Linked DNA regions of Homo sapiens: regions 2 and 3 are each linked to region 1. Evidence: promoter capture Hi-C in 16 types of primary human blood cells and fetal thymus (Javierre and others, 2016). All regions are on one chromosome and are shown on one strand. Each heading gives the region's core, a stretch centred on a gene start or on the middle of the fragment in contact. The rest is flanking DNA. Distances are from core to core; before and after follow the strand shown. Region 1 holds the start of LCMT1 (leucine carboxyl methyltransferase 1). Region 2 overlaps RBBP6 (RB binding protein 6, ubiquitin ligase). Region 3 overlaps RBBP6 (RB binding protein 6, ubiquitin ligase).

Evidence for each region. The method cuts DNA at HindIII sites, captures the fragments that hold promoters and counts their contacts. A CHiCAGO score of 5 or more calls a contact.
Region 2: a contact is called between a fragment that was not itself captured here and the fragment with the promoter of LCMT1 in region 1, in 1 of 17 cell types (naive CD4 T cells). The highest score is 5.6, in naive CD4 T cells.
Region 3: a contact is called between a fragment that was not itself captured here and the fragment with the promoter of LCMT1 in region 1, in 1 of 17 cell types (endothelial precursors). The highest score is 5.1, in endothelial precursors.

The regions. Positions count from the first base shown.
Region 1 is chr16:25,110,203-25,113,224 of GRCh38, forward strand. LCMT1 (leucine carboxyl methyltransferase 1) reads left to right here and starts at 1,540. Exons shown (of 11, transcript NM_016309.3): 1 at 1,540-1,794. The coding sequence starts at 1,682. It overlaps LCMT1-AS1 (LCMT1 antisense RNA 1), which reads right to left and starts at 1,353. Exons shown (of 3, transcript NR_120306.1): 1 at 1,194-1,353. RefSeq lists enhancers at 963-1,490, 1,268-1,597, 1,688-1,847. The HindIII fragment of the contact is 2,890 bases long and covers 1-2,357 here.
Region 2 is chr16:24,548,536-24,551,557 of GRCh38, forward strand. It overlaps RBBP6 (RB binding protein 6, ubiquitin ligase), which reads left to right. Exons shown (of 18, transcript NM_006910.5): 3 at 410-446. Among named protein-coding and RNA genes, the nearest start is that of RBBP6, 10 kb to the left of the region's middle. The HindIII fragment of the contact is 522 bases long and covers 1,353-1,874 here.
Region 3 is chr16:24,566,853-24,569,874 of GRCh38, forward strand. RBBP6 (RB binding protein 6, ubiquitin ligase) reads left to right here. Exons shown (of 18, transcript NM_006910.5): 15 at 291-653; 16 at 940-1,041; 17 at 1,893-3,022. Among named protein-coding and RNA genes, the nearest start is that of RBBP6, 29 kb to the left of the region's middle. The HindIII fragment of the contact is 2,311 bases long and covers 229-2,539 here.

The DNA of each region.
Region 1 (3,022 bases), core at 290-2,789:
TTTTCTTTTTAAAAAAATGAGTGCAATTCAAAGTTCTTAAAGTATATCTGTTTCCTGCTTCCAACAACTGACAGATAACAAAATGGAATATACAAAGACATTTTTAATTTATAATGTATATTAAACATTATTATACATATACAACTTACAAGGGTTGCTTCTGGCTGGATTCTCTGCCAATCGCCCGAACACTGAGGATTCTGCTAGTTGTTCTGCCCTGAGTTAATTATAGCTATAAAATTTCATCACCAGCAAGAAACCAGGCGACTTCCCCAGTACATCTTGAATTTATACATATATTTTGTACTAGATTTAGTACAAAATAAATCCAAAACATCTTGAATATGCCTCATAATGAAACAGACACACGTGAACCCACTCCCACGTGAGAAACTGAGGATGTGTCTATGTGCTCCTTCCCTGCCTCTCCCTCCCCCTCTTGTGTGCTACCCTCCCGGCTCCCTAAAGATCACCAATATCCTGATTCTTTTTTATTTTTTTTTCTCATGTCTTGCCTTCTCTGTACAGTATTTTACCATATATGTACGTTTCTCTAAACAACATTAGTTTTACTTGGTTTGAACTTTACAAAAGTGTTGTTAGACTTCCTTCTTTCACTGAACATCGTGTTTCTGAGATTCAGCCATTGATGCTGCTACCTGGTAGCTCTAGTTCATTTATGATCGCTGCTACATGGCTTCCTATTGTATTACTTTTCCACACACTACTTCCCTCACTACATTTCTTTTCTTTCTTTCTTTTATTTATTTGTTTATTTATTTTTTTGAGACGGAGTCTCGCTCTGTCGCTCAGGACGGAATGCAGTGGCGCCACATGGGCTTACTGCAACCTCCGCCTCCCGGGTTCAAGCGATTCTCCTGCCTCAGCCTCCTGAGTAGCCAGGACTAAGGCGGCCGCCACCACGCCCGGCTAATTTTTGTACTTTTAGTAACAACGGTGTTTCACCATGTTGGCCAGGCTGGTCTCGAACTCCTGACCTCAGGTGATCGGCCCGCCTCGGCTTCCCACAGTGGTGGGATTACAGGAGTGAGCCACTACGCCCGCCCCCCTCACTACATTTCGAAGGCAATTTTGGGGGCAAAGCCCTCAGCACAGTCGCTGGCAGAGTCAGCACACAACAAAATTTTGTAAAATTGAATGACACTGAGCCCGGACTGAATGTAACAACTTACACATGTTGCTTCTGGCTGGATTCTCTGCCCTTTGCCCGAACGCTGAGGATTCTGCTAGCTGTTCCGCCCTGAGTTAATTATAGCTATAAAATTTCGCGACCAGCAAGCAGAAACCGGGCGACTTCTCCAGACACCTAAGACTACGCTTCCCAGAAAGGATTGCGATACTCTCCTACTGTTTAGTTTCTTTTTCCTATCGTCAAATTTCCGGGTTATGTGGGCGGTGCCAAAATAATTATCCAATGAGCAACTTCGTAGGCTGAGCGGGCAGGAGAATTGCTCAATGAGCGACTCGGAAGAGGAGCCAATAAGCGGAGAGGTTGCTGGGGTAGCCGGCGTGGGCGGCGTCACTGAGCCGCGCCAGCTGAGCCAGGTAGGGCCCTACCCTCTTCTGTTGCTTTCTCCCTGTGGCTCGCGCCGTCCCCCGCCGCCCGTCGACCCCGCTTCCATGTCCCTGGCGGACACAGCTCCCAGGAACCTCCACGCCCATGGCCACTAGGCAGAGGGAATCCTCTATCACCTCCTGCTGTTCCACCTCGAGCTGCGACGCAGACGACGAGGGCGTGCGCGGCACCTGCGAAGATGCTTCCCTGTGCAAGAGGTGCCTGTCGGGCGCGGGGTTCGGGGCCGGCATCTGGGGCGCGGGCCTAGGTGGGAGGTGGGCCTGCATCTGAAGAATACGCTCAAGGCTGGCAGGGATGCAGCCCCCGCCTCGCACGACCCTCGCTTCCCACCTGTGAAGTGCACGGAGCAGGGCTTCATTTATTTAACGAATCGTTTCTGAGCTTTTGCTGTGAGCCAGGCAGGGGGCCAGCCTGGGTATCGTCGATGGGAGCAGGCCCCTGAGCCAGACAGACGAGGCCTTGGGCTTCTTGGAGCTAAACGCTGCTGGAAAGACAGACATGAAGCAAATAGTAGCTCCAGCCTCGATGGGTTACGAGGATGAGAGGTGTAGGTTCTCTCTCTTTTGTAGGTTGCATTCTTTAGGGGGTTGGTGTGATCCCTGTTGTGCACCTGAAACTCAGGATGACGAGGGGAAATAACCCACCCAGAGCCAAGTAATATCTCTTTGCAGAGCCAGTACCGCACTAAGTCTCCACTGTTAAGGGTGTGGTGGTGGGGATGGGGGCGTAGCCAGCAGAGGTACGTGTCAGAGAAAGAGAAAGCTTGAGGCTTGAATGTCCACCATTTATTCTTTCATTCAACAAAATTTTTTGAGACCTTACTTTGTGCCAGGCCTTTACTTTGCAGTGGTTAGTAGGAATTCGATGGTGGAAATACACCAAGAACAAGACAGACATGGTGTCAGACATACTGGAACTCACAGCTTTGTTGGAAAAGAGAGACAGGAAGCAAATAATTACCTATGAAATATATAATTATGATTTTTTTGTGTTGAGTGCTGACAAATACGGCAGTGCCATTAGAGTTTGTAATTTTGTCAGTGATGTTTAAGGTGAGAAGAGTTTGGGCGCGGTGGTTCACGCCTGTAATCCCAGCACTTTGGGAGGCCGAGGTGGGCAGATCACGAGGTCAGGAGTTCGAGACCATCCTGGCCAACATGGTGAAACCCCATCTCTACTAAAAATACAAATATTAGCTGGGTGTGGTGGCGGGCGCCTGTAATCCCAGCTACTCGGGAGGCTGAGGCCGGAGAATCATTTGAACCCGGGAGGCAGAGGTTGCAGTGAGCCAAGATCACGCTATTGCACTCCAACCTGGATGAGAGTGCGAGACTATGTCTCAAAAAAAAAAAAAAAAAAAAGTGAGAAGAAAAGGCTTGAAAAATAGGAAAGTTGTAGGAGAGTGTTCAGAGGAGTGTGAACTGT
Region 2 (3,022 bases), core at 364-2,863, 560 kb before region 1:
CAAATGTTAACAACAGCAGTCTTCCTGATGTGTGAAAATTTACGCATTCAGAAACTGGGAAATTATATAATTTAAAATTTTCAGTTTATTAAGAATAAACTACGTTTCTAAACATAAAATCCCTATACTACCTTTCAGAAAACATTTGTTTTAAGTGGCAGGGTACACCTATTTTTGAATTCCCTAGTATGGAATTTTTTTCCAAACCACAAATCTATCTTAAAACTGCTCAAAGGTGGTAAAGATTAATCAGAGTAATTTATTCATTCAGAAATTGGCTGTTAAATATTTATACCAAAGGAAAATTAGGTTCCTAAAAATGTATTATTGAAGATAATGTGTTAAAATTTATTAGCACAAAAATTCATAAATAGCTAATGTTAATTTTTGTTTTTATTTTGTGTTTTAGAAGTCGAACTGAACCAGCGATGGCAACTACAAAAGCAGTATGTAAAAACACAATCTCACACTTTTTCTACACATTGCTTTTACCTTTATAATGTAGCAGTGAAGTAAATCATTTTAGAACTTAATATCCAACTGATCATAGTACATATTGTAAATAAAATGTATTTTGATGACAGCTCAGTTGAATATGGATAATATGTGGCATCACTTGCACACTTATTTTGTAGAAATGGGTAATTTGTGCCCGTAACACTGTTTCATATTAAATATGATAGCATTATCCCTGTATGACACTGTGTTGTACAGTTAATGTATGATCCTTTTTAGATCGTTTAGGTTTTACACTAAGGAACATGATGACATGTTCTACATTTGTCTGTCTATAGTTAGTATTTTGTATGTATGTACAGGCTGTTGTGTGCTTTTTGTTTCTTGCAATAAAAAATGTTTGGAGTGTATATTTTGCCATTTTCACGTTGTATCACTTAGTTTTTGTTAGTTTTTTTTTTCCTGCCTGATTTATGGCTTCCAAAAACGCATTAGCAACATGCAAAGCTTATATTAAAGTTTGATGCTTTCTCCAAGTTCAAACACATCATAGAAAAGAGCTTTCCAGAGACCATTGATGCAGCTTTATTATTTAGTCTTGCTTTATTTGGCATTTTGAGCTCCTTCTTTTGTTTACATCTGTACTATAAAGTGAAACCTGAACCTGGGGCCCCCTATGAATATATAAGTGTCTTAGTGATTTTGAGTTTATATAAACTGATTATATTGTTTTCAAAGTTTAATGAGATCTTCCACTTCTATCTAGTTAGTGCAGATGTCCAAATTAAAATATTTCCCTCTTATACTAAAATGCTGCGTTAATTTTAGGCCATTGAAAGCTGTACCTTATCAGAGGTAACTCCCCTTAACCAGGATAACTGGTTTGAAGAAAGTTAAGCTTAATTTTTGTAATCACAGATTAACTTAATTTGTGATACCATTTTAACTTTGAGCTCTTAAGTAAAAAGTAGCAGCATTCCTAAGTTGTGGGGTGAAGCATCTGTTTCATAACACAGGTCTATCATAATTGGGTTCTGTAAATGTAATGGTTCTCTAAACATTTTAATGCCCAGGCTTGATATTGTACACAATGCAAGATGTCTAAAATCTTCATTTAGAATTCAAGGGTATTGCTTGCTATTTCACATTATATACTTTTTAAATACTATTGCTCTTTGTATATGAGGCATTTCACTAACCTTGGATCATTGGATCTTAAACATGATAATATAGAATATCTGAACATTGGACTTGTTCTTTAGAGTATATGGCCTTTAGTTCTTGTGGAACTAAATACAGTGATTCTAAGATCAAAAGTCTTAGTGTTTGGGGTTTTTTTTTCCTCTTTTTGGATATGGGGTGTTTTTTTTTGTTTTTTTGTTTTTTTTTTTTAAGCATAATGCTGTAAAAACTGTCCAAGCTTATGTTTTGCTGGTGATTGGTTTAAAACTGATTTTTATGTATCCAAATGCTAGCATAAATTAGATTGACTATCCTGGTGACTGTAGTAGTTAATGTAACACATTTTGTATAAAGTACAGTTTATATAGTATTTAAACTAATTCAGATGAAGTTTTATTTCTTGAAAACAGTTATTTCCTTTTTGTTTATTAGCATGTGTATAAACACAAATCACATGTTCATAAATAAAGTTAACATTCTTTTAGCCTTGTGTGTTCCGGCATGTCTGTATTACATTTATAAGAAGCAGTTTATTTAAGCTTATTTAGGTTTCTCTTTTCTTTTCTTTTTTTTTTAATACTTTAAAATTGGCTTTAATTTTTAGGTAGAATTATCTGAAATAGAGATATTAGATAACCTTGTTGTCCCCATCATTTATTTGCTTGGGGTACATTTGCTGGCATTTAAGATGAGAATATATTCATCAAGCATAATTAGTGCCCATCTTAGGAGATTTAGAGTCACGTGGATTGTACACATTCACAAAAGCAAAGTAAATAGAGGCGCTAAGCCAAATTTTTCTTATCCTGATTAGTAAAGTAAATGTATAGTTTTGGTAATGGAAGCGAACTCTAATCAAGAATGGATGGCTGTTTCCATATTCCCCAGTCTTGTTTTTAGTCATCCATCCATGTTGATACCCCAAAGCTGGATGTTCTTCTTGCTAACTAAATATCAGAGTGGTATTTTATAGGATTCTTTAACTTCAAAAAGCTAATATAATTGGCATAAAAGATTTTAGATCCTTGCTTCCCAAAACAAGACCCCTAATTAGGTACAGGGAGGTGGGTTAATTTTAATGTCTACGGTCTGCATCAGTCCGTTTTGTGAGGACTTTAAGTGGCAGACTTTTTTTTACCATTAGTATCTTACCAAGAGTCACTATTTTTATTGATGTTTAGTAATACAAATTCCTAATCATTTTTAAACCATTCTTTGTCAACATTTTTTGCTCATTTCTGAACACCTTGCTATATGTAGGAAACATTTGTTTGCTTTTCTAAATTTGAGGTAAATTTGACTTCTTTGTGGACTATAAGATATTTAGGGGCAATAGTGATTACTTGGTGGTAAAAAGGTGATTTAGGTGCAGTTGCATATCTAA
Region 3 (3,022 bases), core at 134-2,633, 540 kb before region 1:
GTGGAGTGATAATCAGTCTGAACTTCATAAAAGAGAACTTTTAAATACAATATTTCCGTGTAGAGAAGGTCCTATAAACTTGCATCATCTCAGTCGAGACATGGCCTTAAAAATTATGTTGTAGAGTTATTTTTACAAATAAATTGTACTAATGTTGCTACACTAGTTGAATAGTTGGTTCTATTCCACTGTTTTTAAGTTTGAAAATAATTATGGATAGAAGAGATAAGCTTACTTGTCTCAGATGACTTTAGTTTGAAGAAGTAATATCTTGGAATTTATTTTTCCAGAAGTATAAACCGTGGGCGACACCACAGCGAAAGATCACAGAGGACTCAAGGCCCGTCACTACCAGCAACTCCAGTCTTTGTACCTGTTCCACCACCTCCTTTGTATCCGCCTCCTCCCCATACACTTCCTCTCCCTCCGGGTGTTCCTCCTCCACAGTTTTCTCCTCAGTTTCCTCCTGGCCAGCCACCACCCGCTGGGTATAGTGTCCCTCCTCCAGGGTTTCCTCCAGCTCCTGCCAATTTATCAACACCTTGGGTATCATCAGGAGTGCAGACAGCTCATTCAAATACCATCCCAACAACACAAGCACCACCTTTGTCCAGGGAAGAATTCTATAGAGAGCAGCGACGACTAAAAGAAGAGTATGTATTCTAATTTGAAATTATTATACACTTTTTTCATTTTCTGATAATAACATTAAATAGGTGTCTGGAAACGTTTTCCAGTGTTTCCAGTTAGTATGAGAAATTCACCTAAAATTTAAACCAAAGCCATACAAGCAACTTCTCAGGGATTCCTAGTTTATAGTTTTAAAGTGGAAAACTAATGGCAATTTCATTCATTTCATTCATGATCTAATTACATTTGTCTTGTTAGTTTTCTTAAATGGTTTTTGTTAACTTTCACTCTTTAACTTTATTTTACTAGGGAAAAGAAAAAGTCCAAGCTAGATGAGTTTACAAATGATTTTGCTAAGGAATTGATGGAATACAAAAAGATTCAAAAGGAGCGTAGGCGCTCATTTTCCAGGTTAGTGTTTTGCAAGCCTTCACAACAGAATTACAAACGGGACTTTGAATATCCAGGGATTAGCTATGGATATAAAGAACATTGCACTTAGGAATTTTTCTGATTCGGTCTAGGTGTATAGAAGTGAAGATGTAGCTTATTTCCCAATATCTGTTCATTGAAATAATGTCTCAGTGTAAATTTTATTGTGTAGAACTAACAGTTGTGGGGATTAAATTGCCCTTGTCCCTTAAAGTTATTCATAGTATCAAATAATTGGGAAATGTTTTTGGAAGGAAAGAAATAGGGGAATAGCCAAAAAACAGTTCCCAGGACCCTTTTACCATAAGGCTACAGCTTCTTGCTGGAACATTAACCTGCGTAATTATGAAGTAGTAGTAGAATACAGATCGCTTTATTGATAGAAAAAGTGAATTATAAAAATTCCCTGGAAGTTTGTTTAAAAGACTTTATTTTTTAGCCTTACACTTGAAATGTGGTTTCTTTTAAAACTAGGCTGTTGGCCAGTATAGGACAAAAAACAGACTCCTACTTCAATATTCAGATAGGAAGTGAAATTTAAAATTAATTGACATTTTGTTTAATGTTAGTTAGCTCATATAACTCACGGTACATTAATGCACTTCACTCTAATTGTTAAGACTTCACTTTTGTTTTGTAACAAGTGATTGCTCCGATTTGTGTACTTTATTCCATTCCAGTAGAGGTCACTGTGCCTCTTTAATCATCTAAGATGAAATTTGATATAAAGATAGATGAAACCGTGAGGAAAGAATGCTAGAATCTGAGAGTCTGTGTTTTATTTTGTATGTATTTCTCAACTATCAACTATTGTTTTGTTTTGTTTTTAGGTCTAAATCTCCCTATAGTGGTTCTTCGTATTCAAGAAGTTCATATACTTATTCTAAATCAAGATCTGGTTCAACACGTTCACGCTCTTATTCTCGATCATTCAGCCGCTCACATTCTCGTTCCTATTCACGGTCACCTCCATACCCCAGAAGAGGCAGAGGCAAGAGCCGCAATTACCGTTCACGGTCTAGATCTCATGGATATCATCGATCTAGGTCAAGGTCACCCCCTTACAGACGCTATCATTCACGATCAAGATCTCCTCAAGCGTTTAGGGGACAGTCTCCTAATAAACGTAATGTACCTCAAGGGGAAACAGAACGTGAATATTTTAATAGATACAGAGAAGTTCCACCACCATATGACATGAAAGCATATTATGGGAGAAGTGTTGACTTTAGAGACCCATTTGAAAAAGAACGCTACCGAGAATGGGAGAGAAAATATAGAGAGTGGTATGAAAAATATTATAAAGGTTATGCTGCTGGAGCACAGCCTAGACCCTCAGCAAATAGAGAGAACTTTTCTCCAGAGAGATTTTTGCCACTTAACATCAGGAATTCTCCCTTCACAAGAGGCCGCAGAGAAGACTATGTTGGTGGGCAAAGTCATAGAAGTCGAAACATAGGTAGCAACTATCCAGAAAAGCTTTCAGCAAGAGATGGTCACAATCAGAAGGATAATACAAAGTCAAAAGAGAAGGAGAGTGAAAACGCTCCAGGAGATGGTAAAGGAAATAAGCATAAGAAACACAGAAAAAGAAGAAAAGGGGAGGAAAGTGAGGGTTTTCTGAACCCAGAGTTATTAGAGACTTCTAGGAAATCAAGAGAACCTACAGGTGTTGAAGAAAATAAAACAGACTCATTGTTTGTTCTCCCAAGTAGAGATGATGCCACACCTGTTAGAGATGAACCAATGGATGCAGAATCAATCACTTTTAAATCAGTGTCTGAAAAAGACAAGAGAGAAAGGGATAAACCAAAAGCAAAGGGTGATAAAACCAAACGGAAGAATGATGGATCTGCTGTGTCCAAAAAAGAAAATATTGTAAAACCTGCTAAAGGACCCCAAGAAAAAGTAGATGGAGAACGTGAGAGATCTCCTCGATCTGAACCTCCAATTAAAAAAG